Regions from separate parts of the Homo sapiens genome. Here all the other regions are linked to region 3. Evidence: promoter capture Hi-C in human tissues and cell types (Jung and others, 2019). All regions are on one chromosome and are shown on one strand. The core of a region is centred on a gene start or on the middle of the fragment in contact, and the rest is flanking DNA. Distances in the headings are between cores, read along the strand shown.

Evidence for each region. The method cuts DNA at HindIII sites, captures the fragments that hold promoters and counts their contacts. A contact is called where the count stands out against the background at its distance.
Region 1: a contact is called between a fragment that was not itself captured here and the fragment with the promoter of CCDC179 in region 3, in 2 of the 25 tissues and cell types used here (adrenal gland and hippocampus).
Region 2: a fragment that was not itself captured here is called in contact with the fragment with the promoter of CCDC179 in region 3 in 1 of the 25 tissues and cell types used here (heart right atrium).

What each region holds. Positions count from the first base shown.
Region 1 is chr11:22,824,625-22,827,826 of GRCh38, reverse strand. It overlaps SVIP (small VCP interacting protein), which reads left to right. Exons shown (of 4, transcript NM_148893.3): 2 at 1-3; 3 at 507-620. Among named protein-coding and RNA genes, the nearest start is that of LINC02718, 3.2 kb to the left of the region's middle. The HindIII fragment of the contact is 6,049 bases long and covers 1-3,202 here.
Region 2 is chr11:22,894,012-22,897,591 of GRCh38, reverse strand. The region is part of intron 3 of LINC02718 (long intergenic non-protein coding RNA 2718); the gene reads right to left. Among named protein-coding and RNA genes, the nearest start is that of CCDC179, 35 kb to the right of the region's middle. The HindIII fragment of the contact is 6,473 bases long and covers 1-3,580 here.
Region 3 is chr11:22,859,045-22,862,550 of GRCh38, reverse strand. CCDC179 (coiled-coil domain containing 179) reads left to right here and starts at 2,077. Exons shown (of 4, transcript NM_001195637.2): 1 at 2,077-2,174; 2 at 3,055-3,099. The coding sequence starts at 2,130. All of the region lies in intron 3 of LINC02718 (long intergenic non-protein coding RNA 2718), which reads right to left. The HindIII fragment of the contact is 9,229 bases long and covers 1-3,506 here.

The DNA of each region.
Region 1 (3,202 bases), core at 251-2,750, 34 kb after region 3:
GAGGTAAGATTAAAGATCAAGTTTTGCCTACTTAGATAATTGAGTTTGGACTTTATTCTTCATAGATGTCCATAGCTAGATTTTCTAACGCAAATGGCCTTTGATATCCCAAAAATTTACATTTAAATGTAATTATTTTCAAAATGATTTCCTTATTTATATGAATTGCATTAATATATTTATATTAATATATGAAAACTATCATATCTTCTCTAAATTCAGATACTCTTTTAGTAACATCCTTCCTTTTAAAATGGCTGTGCATTGTAAAATACTTACAGATGTGAAGCAAGTTTAGGGGAAAATTTGTATAGTTACAAAATACCCAGTGAAGAAATGATGTTTTATGTAAGGCTGTTGTAGAAACACTCCTTCTATGTTACCAAAAATAAACCAACTCCCTACCCCCAAAGAAAAACCTAGAAAGCAAAGATAGACAAAAAAATGTTTTGCACACTGGACAGATTTTTGTTGTCTTTCTGTTTTTCTTATCAAATTTCTTCAAGGCTGCATCTCGGGGAATTTTAGATGTTCAATCTGTGCAAGAAAAGAGAAAGAAAAAGGAAAAAATAGAAAAACAAATTGCTACATCCGGGCCCCCACCAGAAGGTGGACTTAGGGTAAGTATTAAAATTTTCTTAGTGATTAACTTAACTGGCATTTTAAAAAAACTTAAGTAGCAATCCATTCATAATTTTCTCCTGAAATGTATTATCAGAAAATTTTGAAATAGTTTAAAAGCATGAGTAGTAAATATTGGAAGTAATACCAATTTATTTTAACATTTATTGGAATCAATTAGCTTTTTTCCCCAAAATGAAATAATAGATTTATTATTTTAACACTATATATATTTTAATACTCTTATGCTTACTACTAATCTTAAATAATTCAAAAATTCAAGCAATATGGAGAAGTATAAAGAAGTGTAAAAGTCATCCAAACTAAGTACCATTTTGACAGACATAATTTCTAACCTTCATTTATATATCTTATTAAATTGGATTACGCTATAAGTTCTGTTTTATGGCCTGAGCTCTTTTACGCATTGATTTGGAATCTTTGATCTTTCCATTGCCCCTGTTTATTATAGTTATGTAAATGTTAATTTGGATTACAGAATGTATACAGGTGTGGGTATCATACACATACCTCCCTAGATATGGATCCCAGAGCTAGACACTGGGAATATAATGGTGGACAAGTTAAGCAGAGTCTCTGAATGCTGGAGTCTTTACACTCTAGCAGGACTTTAAAGGATTTATTTTTAAAATCCCTTAAAGCTCAGGAAAATAATGGCTCAGATATTAAGAATTTATTCTTGGTCCATTTTTAAAGTAAATAGTAGTATATTTGTGAAAAGGACAATGTCTTTAATTTCAGTCATTTATATTTAACTTGTCAATGATTTATGAGTACCTTTCAACAGATTTATTGGTTTTTTTTCTCTCAAAACTACACACACACACACATGCACATACATATACATGGACATATACACATACACTTGCCTACATGTAGATACTCTCGTAACTTGTGGGGCAGGCAGTTTATGAACACCCTGAGCAGTTGATTCTGGCTCAAGAATATCACAGAAATAAGAATGTGTGTCTGTGTATTTTACTATTGTACGTTACTTCATCTTATATCATTTAACGAATGAAAATTTATGAAGTTTTTTTATGGTGAACTTTTAGCAATATATAATTAGTTTCAATATAAGGTAAATAAGTCTGACCATTTTGCTTATGTTTTTTATAATTCCATAATAGAACAGAATAGGTCTAGTGTAAAGTAAAACAGTTGGGTGATAACGAGGTCAATTCTTTATCATATCTCAATATTCTGTTGAGATAAAGTGCTGTTTCACTAGGTTTACTTCATATAGGGTTGTCAAAAACAAACACAAAATTACAAAAGTTAAATTGTAGGACTGGAAATAATGAGATCCACTATTTCACAGTAGAAGTGGTGAAGGTATTAAGTTAAAGTCATACGTAATGTTATAGGAAAAGGATAATTTAATCAACACTTAATCATAATTAAGAAGACACTTCACAAGTTCTAACCTAATGAAATTAACATCAGCTTTTAAAGTATAATAAAGAAAGAGGCTTTCTTAAACTTGAAGCTTCCACACTCTGAAGTCTATAGATTAAAAAAAAAATTTAGGCCTTATATTACTTACAATCCATTCAAAAGTGCTCAAAATGTAAAACATACCCAAAGTTAAATTTAGTTTCTGTTTTTCTTTGTGTACTGTTCTTGTAAGAAATCTCTCAAACTCACTTAGTAAAAATGACCTTCAGGACCTTGAAACTATATAGTGGCAGGAGGATTTTCTCCAGTGGCTCACTGTCATTAGCCACTGCTGTTGTCCACTGTGAGTAATTTTTCCTTGGAATATTCCTCATCACCTACCACTACCACACTAGCTTCAAGTGGCATGCTCCATTCTGCTTGACACATGCACAACATGTCAAGAGCATGAAGTGAAAAAATTCTGGAAGGCTCAGGGATAACAGAAGGGAAAAATACAAGGCAGAAGTACTTAACCCTCAAAACGCTTGGCCTATGGTCCTTTAATGGCTGCTGTCTGGCTTGTTTCATGGGCTGGCCTGAAGTATTGGTAGAGTCTTCCTAAGGTAGGAAGGTTAGGAAGACTCTTCCCTAGGTAGAGTCTTTCTGACCTGACTCTACCTAGAGTATGAGTCTAGTTTGCATTCCCTGTCTTCATGCCTTTCACCTATTCATCTCCTGACCAGTGCTGCATCTTTCCAGGGTAATTAGCATGGGTAATGCTGTCTTCTGACTTCTTACCTGAAGAAGTCAATGTGATGATGGCATCAGGATGCAAAGTACTATCAGTACAGGATATAGCAGCACGGGAGTAAGGGTAGACCTCTAGTACAATGGCTTTCCACCTTAGCTGCATGTTGGAGTTTCATAGGCAGCTTTCAAAAAGGATTGTTCATTGGGCTCCACCTCACACCAGTCAGTCTCTGAGAGTAGGGTTTAGCCATCAGGACTGTTTTAAGCTTCCCAAGGTAATCTAATGTGAACCCAGATTGAGAATCACTATCCTAGCGTTTATAACACTTGTCCTAAGAGAGATGTTTTGGAAGATAGAGTCCCATGGGAATAAATGTTTAAAAATGCTAAATTGTATATTGTAGACTATATCCCCTTCTTAGAGACTAAA
Region 2 (3,580 bases), core at 913-3,412, 35 kb before region 3:
AGTAATATTTCCCAGTTACTTACCCAACTAGTGTCAGAATCATCAGTATTTTACTGTTTATAATGTAGCTTTTCTGAATGTTTTATAGTCGCTTACAGAAATGTATACAGGAAGCAGTGTATAATTTTGGCAACTTCATTGTTGAACATCATCTGCAGGTATTGATCTGACAGTGTATGTCAGGATCAGGTGGGTTTACTCTGCCCTGACTTGGGGCTGCTAGATATCCAAGTACTACAAATTGCTTGTTGTGCTATTGCTACACCTCACATTTATTATTCTGTATTTCGTACAGAAATGCACATTTTATGGAAGCATTTTTTCTCCTGCTCTGTTAGCTTCTTCCTAGGAAATGCTACTAAACTTGTGTCACGTACCCTGTCTTGCAGCGTTTAGTTCAGGAGCCTTACAACCCGGCGCAGCTAGCTAATGAGGCTGAGGAAGAAGGTGAAGCCCGCTTCTGGAGCAAAATCTCTGCTGATCACTGCGAAATCAGTGCTGAAAGAGCCCCTCTTTCACTTAGAGGCTATAATGTTCTTCTTCTCCCCCAAATAACATTTTCTTCTGATAGCCAATTTTCACAAACAAAGGTCAAATGAGAGACAAAGATAAACCTGGATTCCACACTTTTCCATTTGTTATTAAGTATTTCCATTTCCATTAAGTATTCTTAATGATAAGAAGGTCTGAGTCTGTGAACCAAGGTGCTTCTTCTGAGTAGAAAGTTACCCAGAAAGGCAGATCTTTTCTCAGCAGGTTATATGAAATGTGCAGAATTAGAATGAATGTGAGGGAATATTTGCCTCGTGTCAGAGATCACCAATAAGCTACTGATGGCTCTGAACCAAAGAATGAATGTGTGTGTGTGTGTTTGTGTGGTCTTTTATTTTTCTAAACTAATGTATTTTTGCAGTATTAGACTTCATGACAAAGTTCCTTCTCTGTACCCTATTTTTCTTTTTTTTTTTTTTGAGATCGAGTCTCACTCTGTCGCCCAGGCTGGAGTGCAGCGGTGCAATCTCAGCTTACTGCAAGCTCCACCTCCCGGACTCATGCCATTCTCCTGCCTCAGCCTGGGCAGCTGGGACTGTCAGCGCCTGCCACCATGCCCGGCTAATTTTTTTGTATTTTTTAGTAGAGATGGGGTTTCACCATGTTAGCCAGGATGGTCTCGATCTCCTGACCTCATGATCTGCCCGCCTCGGCCTCCCAAAGTGCTGGGATTACAGGCGTGAGCCACCGCGCCCAGCCTCTGTACCCTATTTTTCTAAGATGACCATTCTTCTATTCCTTGCCCTCCTCAGCTCAGGCAAGATTATGGTGAATTGCGGTGTTCTACAGTGGGTCTCACAATACTTTACCAGTGGCTATTTTACATTTAGATGCATCCACATTATACAGAGCTGAAATGGAAAAACTTTCACATCATACTACCGTTACTGGATGTGACATGCTCTCACATCTATGTTTTAGTCAATCCTTTTTAAATTGTAGTTAAGGCAGGTCGTGATTGAAATAGTTTGGCTGTGTTCCCACCCAAATCTCACCTTGAATTGTAATAATTCCCCACATGTCAAGAGCAGGGCCAGGTGGAGATAATTGAATCATGGGGGCAGTTTCCTCCATGCTGTTCTCATGGTAGTAAATAAGTCTCACAAGATCTGATGGTTATATAAATGGGAGTTCCCCTGCACAAGCTCTCTTGTCTGCTGCCATGTAAGATGTGACTTTGCTCCTCATTCTCCTTCTACCATGATTGTGAAGCCTCCCCAGGCATGTGGAACTGTGAGTCAATTAAACCTCTTTCCTTTATAAATTACCCAGTCTCGGGTATGTCTTCATTAGCAACCTGAGAACAGACTAATACAATTGGCCCATTAAATTGATTTCAAGATCCATTTAAAGGTCATGATTACCACTTTAAAATACTAAGACCCCGGAACATGAGGGGACATCTTGGATGGAACAGTCAGGTGAGTGCAGCCCTATGCATAAATTGGCCTTCACGGTATGCAGCAAAAGGGTCCAGCTGAGCCCATTGGACCCACAGGATAATAAGAAACAATAAATTATTTTTCTTTTAAGCTTACAAAAAAACCCCCCAGAAACAACAAAACATTAGTTTTGGTGACAGTGAGGAAGGTCAAGGGGTGAGGAGGCTGGGTTTTCTTTCTTTGTATGAACTGTATTAAGTTTTCTCTCAGAGTTTTAAGGATGCCTCTTGTGGTTGTCCAAGGGAGAAATTGTGAAGCTAGTGCTATGAATCCCTTCTGAAATGCATACGTGGAATGACTAAGGGTGGAAAGACAATGAGCAACTTGATGATACCCTCAACCAGAATAAGAAAAACACGGGCTGATTAGTAACATAAAATGTTATGTTTAAGAAGAGCCCAGGACTTGAGTTTACATGGTTCTGAGTATAAATCTACTACTTAGTTTGTAATAATTACTTAACATCTCCAGTCCTTAGCCTTGTCTTCTGGACAATGGAGATGGAAGTAGTGTAGTATCTTCTCATCAGATTTTTAGATAATTAAATGCATCAACATATGAGAACTGAAATAACCTACTATATAACTTAGGATATAAATAATAGTCTGCAATACATTTCCTGAAACACAACCTTTGCATTCATACATTCTCAGCTTATCAGAGGATCCGGTGTTTCTAATCCACTGCAGCCTTCCCCATATATGAAGTCTTACTCTTGTCTAAAATGTATGTTTTCTCTCTCCTTGTCTCTGAATCAGTGCTCAGATATACCCCCTGGAGGCTGGGAGATTTTAAAATTGCTTCTGCCACCCAAACTTGGTTGCTACAGACCAATACCCTATACTACGTATACACCATGGCTAGTGTCAAAGCCAAAGGCTGAATGACACCATGACACTGACACATTTCAAAACGATCCTAGGCTTGCTGCTGTGGGCATGTCTAAAATGTGTCATTATAAATGAATTCCCTGTTCTGGACCTTGCAACTGTTGACATATAGGAGCTTTCTCTAAGTCGCAGAGAATCTTTCAGGCAGGAGGAAGAACATTCTTTACCTCTCTACCCCCAGTGATGTGTCCAGCAGAAAACAGTGCTGCCTTGGGGCCCAGTAGATAGTGGATACAGCATAATAGTGAGTGAAAGGAGAATAGAGGAAATAGTAGCCCTACAGCACCATTAAGGAATGCTACTGCAGCCTTAGCATCCTCCTCTTTTACATACCAGGACGGAAGAGACAGTAAGATGTTATTCAGTGAATTCAACATATTTCACTCTTGGTTCCACGTAAGACACTGGCCTCAGTTCTCCTGGAAGGGGGTTAAGAGATTCCTAATTCATCTGGAGGAGTGAGATGCAGGTTGACTATACTATCTATTCAGCTGGTTTCAGGATGATCGATGAAAATATAATTGTGGACTCATTCCTCATTTCTTGTGTGCTACATCTAGACTTTCTAAAAAGATCCTAACAACAATGTTGTAAACATATTTTCTGTGGTTCCAGAGAGCTACAGAAGAACAACATGGCAGAGTGGAAACAGTATGAGTCTTGAGGTAGGTTGTGGGTTTTTAGTAATGATTCTGT
Region 3 (3,506 bases), core at 828-3,327:
CTTTTTGTTTTTGCTAATCTATCTGACTGCCTTTGAGGGCAATAATTTATTCATTTTGTATGCATAGGACTTGGCATGATATGTGACAGTAGCATTCAAAACATTTTCTATAGTGTGTCAAGTCAATTCCTGGTTTGTGATAATGGGGAAGTTTATATGATTTTTCTACAACTTATTGCTCCCAGAGGGGAGTTTCAAGAAGAGCATGGATAATGATTTTGAACATTACAGTTGGGCAAAACTGTTTACTTTTTCTAAGCCTAACTCATCAGAAAGACTTTTCAGCAGTTTCTAACGTGATACAAAAATCATATGATAGAAACTGTCCATTGAATTCAGGAGAAAGATCATTTGATTAACCATTTTGAGAAAAGCACCAGTGGAACAGTGGGAGTTGAAACAGGTTTCAGTAAGCCAAATCTTACACTGAACATAAAGAAGAGGCAGAGGTACAGACCACTCTCATGAATATTTACTTTATATAGAGGGGATGGGCAATAGATACAATTGGTTGTTGTTCTAAGGAGTTTCCTTTATTAGTTTGGAGAGGGGGAGATTTGAACTTACAGTAATGAAATGTTTAAAGGAAAGAGGCAATATAGAGAAGTTAACAAGGAGAGGAACAATCTGTAGAGCTAGATCTGAGGAGGCTCCTAGGAGGGAAATGGCATGCAAATGCAAATGGATAGATTTATTTGAGGCAACAGAAGGGATACCAATTTTTTTTTCCATTTCGACAGGGTTACAGGGAAAAGGATAATGTGGATATTGACAAGGTTATAGGATTTTAGGTGGTATTGAGGTAGCCCCAGTGAGGGCTTCAAAAGCAATGGTAGCATAGCACATAATTAGGAGCACATGATCTAAGGGCCAACCCTGGATTTAAATTCCAGCTCACCCTCTTACTAATAGCGTAACTTCAAGAAAGCAATTTAACATGCTAGCGCCTTGTTTCCCAGTGATTATAATCATGCCCTTACCCACCTTGAGTGGTCTAAAGACTTGATCAGTTAACACATATAAATTCATGTAACAGTGCTGAGCATAGTAAGCTCTATACATGTTCACCAGCATCAGAGTGTGAAGCACGGATTGTCCCACTTCTACTGGAAGTGCCTGAGTGTTGGTGGATTCAGAGATTTTAATAGAAGACAATTTGAAGGGAATACTGCAGAGCACAAAAAAAGCTGGTGCAACATAAAAGTCTTAAGCAGCTTTGAGGACCCAGTTTAAATTGGGGGTCACGGCCGGGCCTGGTGGCTCACGCCTGTAATTTCAGCACTTTGGGAGGGCAAGACGGGTGGATCACCTGAGGTCAGGAGTTTGAGAACAGCCTCCAATATGGTAAAACCCTGTCTCTACTAAAACTACAAAATCATTAGCCAGGCATTGTGGCATGCGCCTGCAGTCCCAGCTACTCGGGAGGCTGAGATGGGAGAATTGCTTGAACCCTCGAGGTGTAGGTAGCAGTGAGGTGGAGGTAGCAGTGAGCTAAGATTGTAGCACTGCACTCCAGCCTGGGCGACAGAGAGACTTGGCCAAAAAAAAAAAGAAAAAAGAAAATAAATAAATAAATAGATCTGGGGTCACAAATATGTATTCCAGCCATCTTCAAGCTTCTCCTCACTTCATCTGGTATAGATAGATGGGAAGAAGGCAGACAGTTGGGTCAGCCCAACTAGAAGCTGTGAAGGAACAACAATGAGGTGGTGGAATTGAGAACCCTAACAATAGATAGACAGTCTGAAGTAAGAGAACATGGAGACTAAGCTAGATATGTTAACAAATGAAAGGGGCTTTATAAAGAGAGAGACTAGAGAGATGAAGGGTAGAAAAGGTGGGAAATTGGTATTCTGCAATTTTCTGAGGAAGAAGGATAGGATATAAGGAATTATGGTAAACTGACTTCCATAACTCAAAGACACTGCAGACAACTTGAGGCCTTGCCTTCCCTGCACTGGACTGGAATACAACTGGGGAAAGGGTGGGGCCCATAGCAGGGAGAAGAATAAAGAGAATAGTGATGGAACTGGGTGGGGCAGGGCTTGAAGGCTGTGGGTGTGGGGCCCCATAATCATTTGGTCCAGGACAGGCAGTAGGCGTCAGGGGGCGCCCTAAGGCTCCACGGCATGTGCCTGTATTGCTGGGACATCGAGCCTTCCCAAGTCAACCCTGTGAGTCTGCTGGGGCCTACAACCTCAACTCTGCCACTCTGTCCTGTGCCTTGAGCTCCAGGCCACTGTGGCCTTGGCCATGGTGCTTCTAACTCTTGTAAATGTGGTTTGGTGCTGGGGGTTGGGAAATTCCAGGTGATGTAGACAGACTACATCCTGACTGCTGGACCCCTCTGAAACAAGAAAAAGCTCCACCCACTGTGTGCTTAGGGGTCAGGTACATCACCTGTATGTTGACTGCCCCATTGGCCTGCCCTAGGAGGTGGAGTGGAAATTACAGAAGTAGGGAGCAGGATAAAGTTCTCAATTGCCAGATGTGGAACAGATTGCTCTTGGGTCTTCTGGTTAAAAGATTGGATCAAAACGAGTGAAGGAGGAGTTATTTAAGGTACAATCAAGAAATAGAGGAAGTGGTGAGAATCTCGAAAACTAACAGCCAAGCTCCCTGTGCTTCAGAAAACCATACGATCTCAATCACATCACCAATTACTCCTAGGCTTTGAAACCAGATTGAAGACTAGATTGCTCAATAGCACCACTGAAGTCCTGTAGAAGCAGAAACATGCATTTTTCGATTTCTCGTACATTCTTTCCCTCCCGAATATATCTCTATACTCTGCCTTTTATCTGTAAGGTGGTTCACAGCTGGTTCTTTTTTATCATAATATCGTCTCCATCTTCCACCACAATTTTTATCTTAGATGTTTTTATTCTGAACTTGACTTTTTTCTTTTTGTTTTTTTAACCTGCTTCTTATAGTTGAAATGATTCATATAATACATAAATTTAAAAGTAGCATAGGCTTCCTATTATAATAATTAATTTACTGTTTTTAATGACTTTTTTGTGTGAATGTGTTTTAATTTTGTTTATTATATAGGAAGGACCAAGACAACATCATCCTTCAGAGGTCACTGAGCGGCAGGTAATGTTTAAATAAAGAACTAGGTTCTGGTTGTTTAAACATTGTGCTTGTAACTTGTTCCTTTATGTAGTGGTCCCTAACATAATAGAACTTGTATTAAGTAGACACTTCAGTATATTTCTTGGGACTCTGGGATCTAATGACTACTATTGGAATGGGTCTTAACTAGGGTAAACTAAATGGCTTATGTTATTTTTTAATGTAACATTTGACACATATACAAAAATAGATGTGGCAGATATAATTTATAAATTACAATATGCCTCCCATTTAAGGATTAAAATATTAGGTATTTCTGAATCCAGCTAGGGAATGCTTTTCTATTCTACCTCCTAAGGTCTCTCCCAGAGGTGACCTCCATCTTGAATTTTAGCTACATCAATCTCTTCCTCTTCTTTAATAGTTTG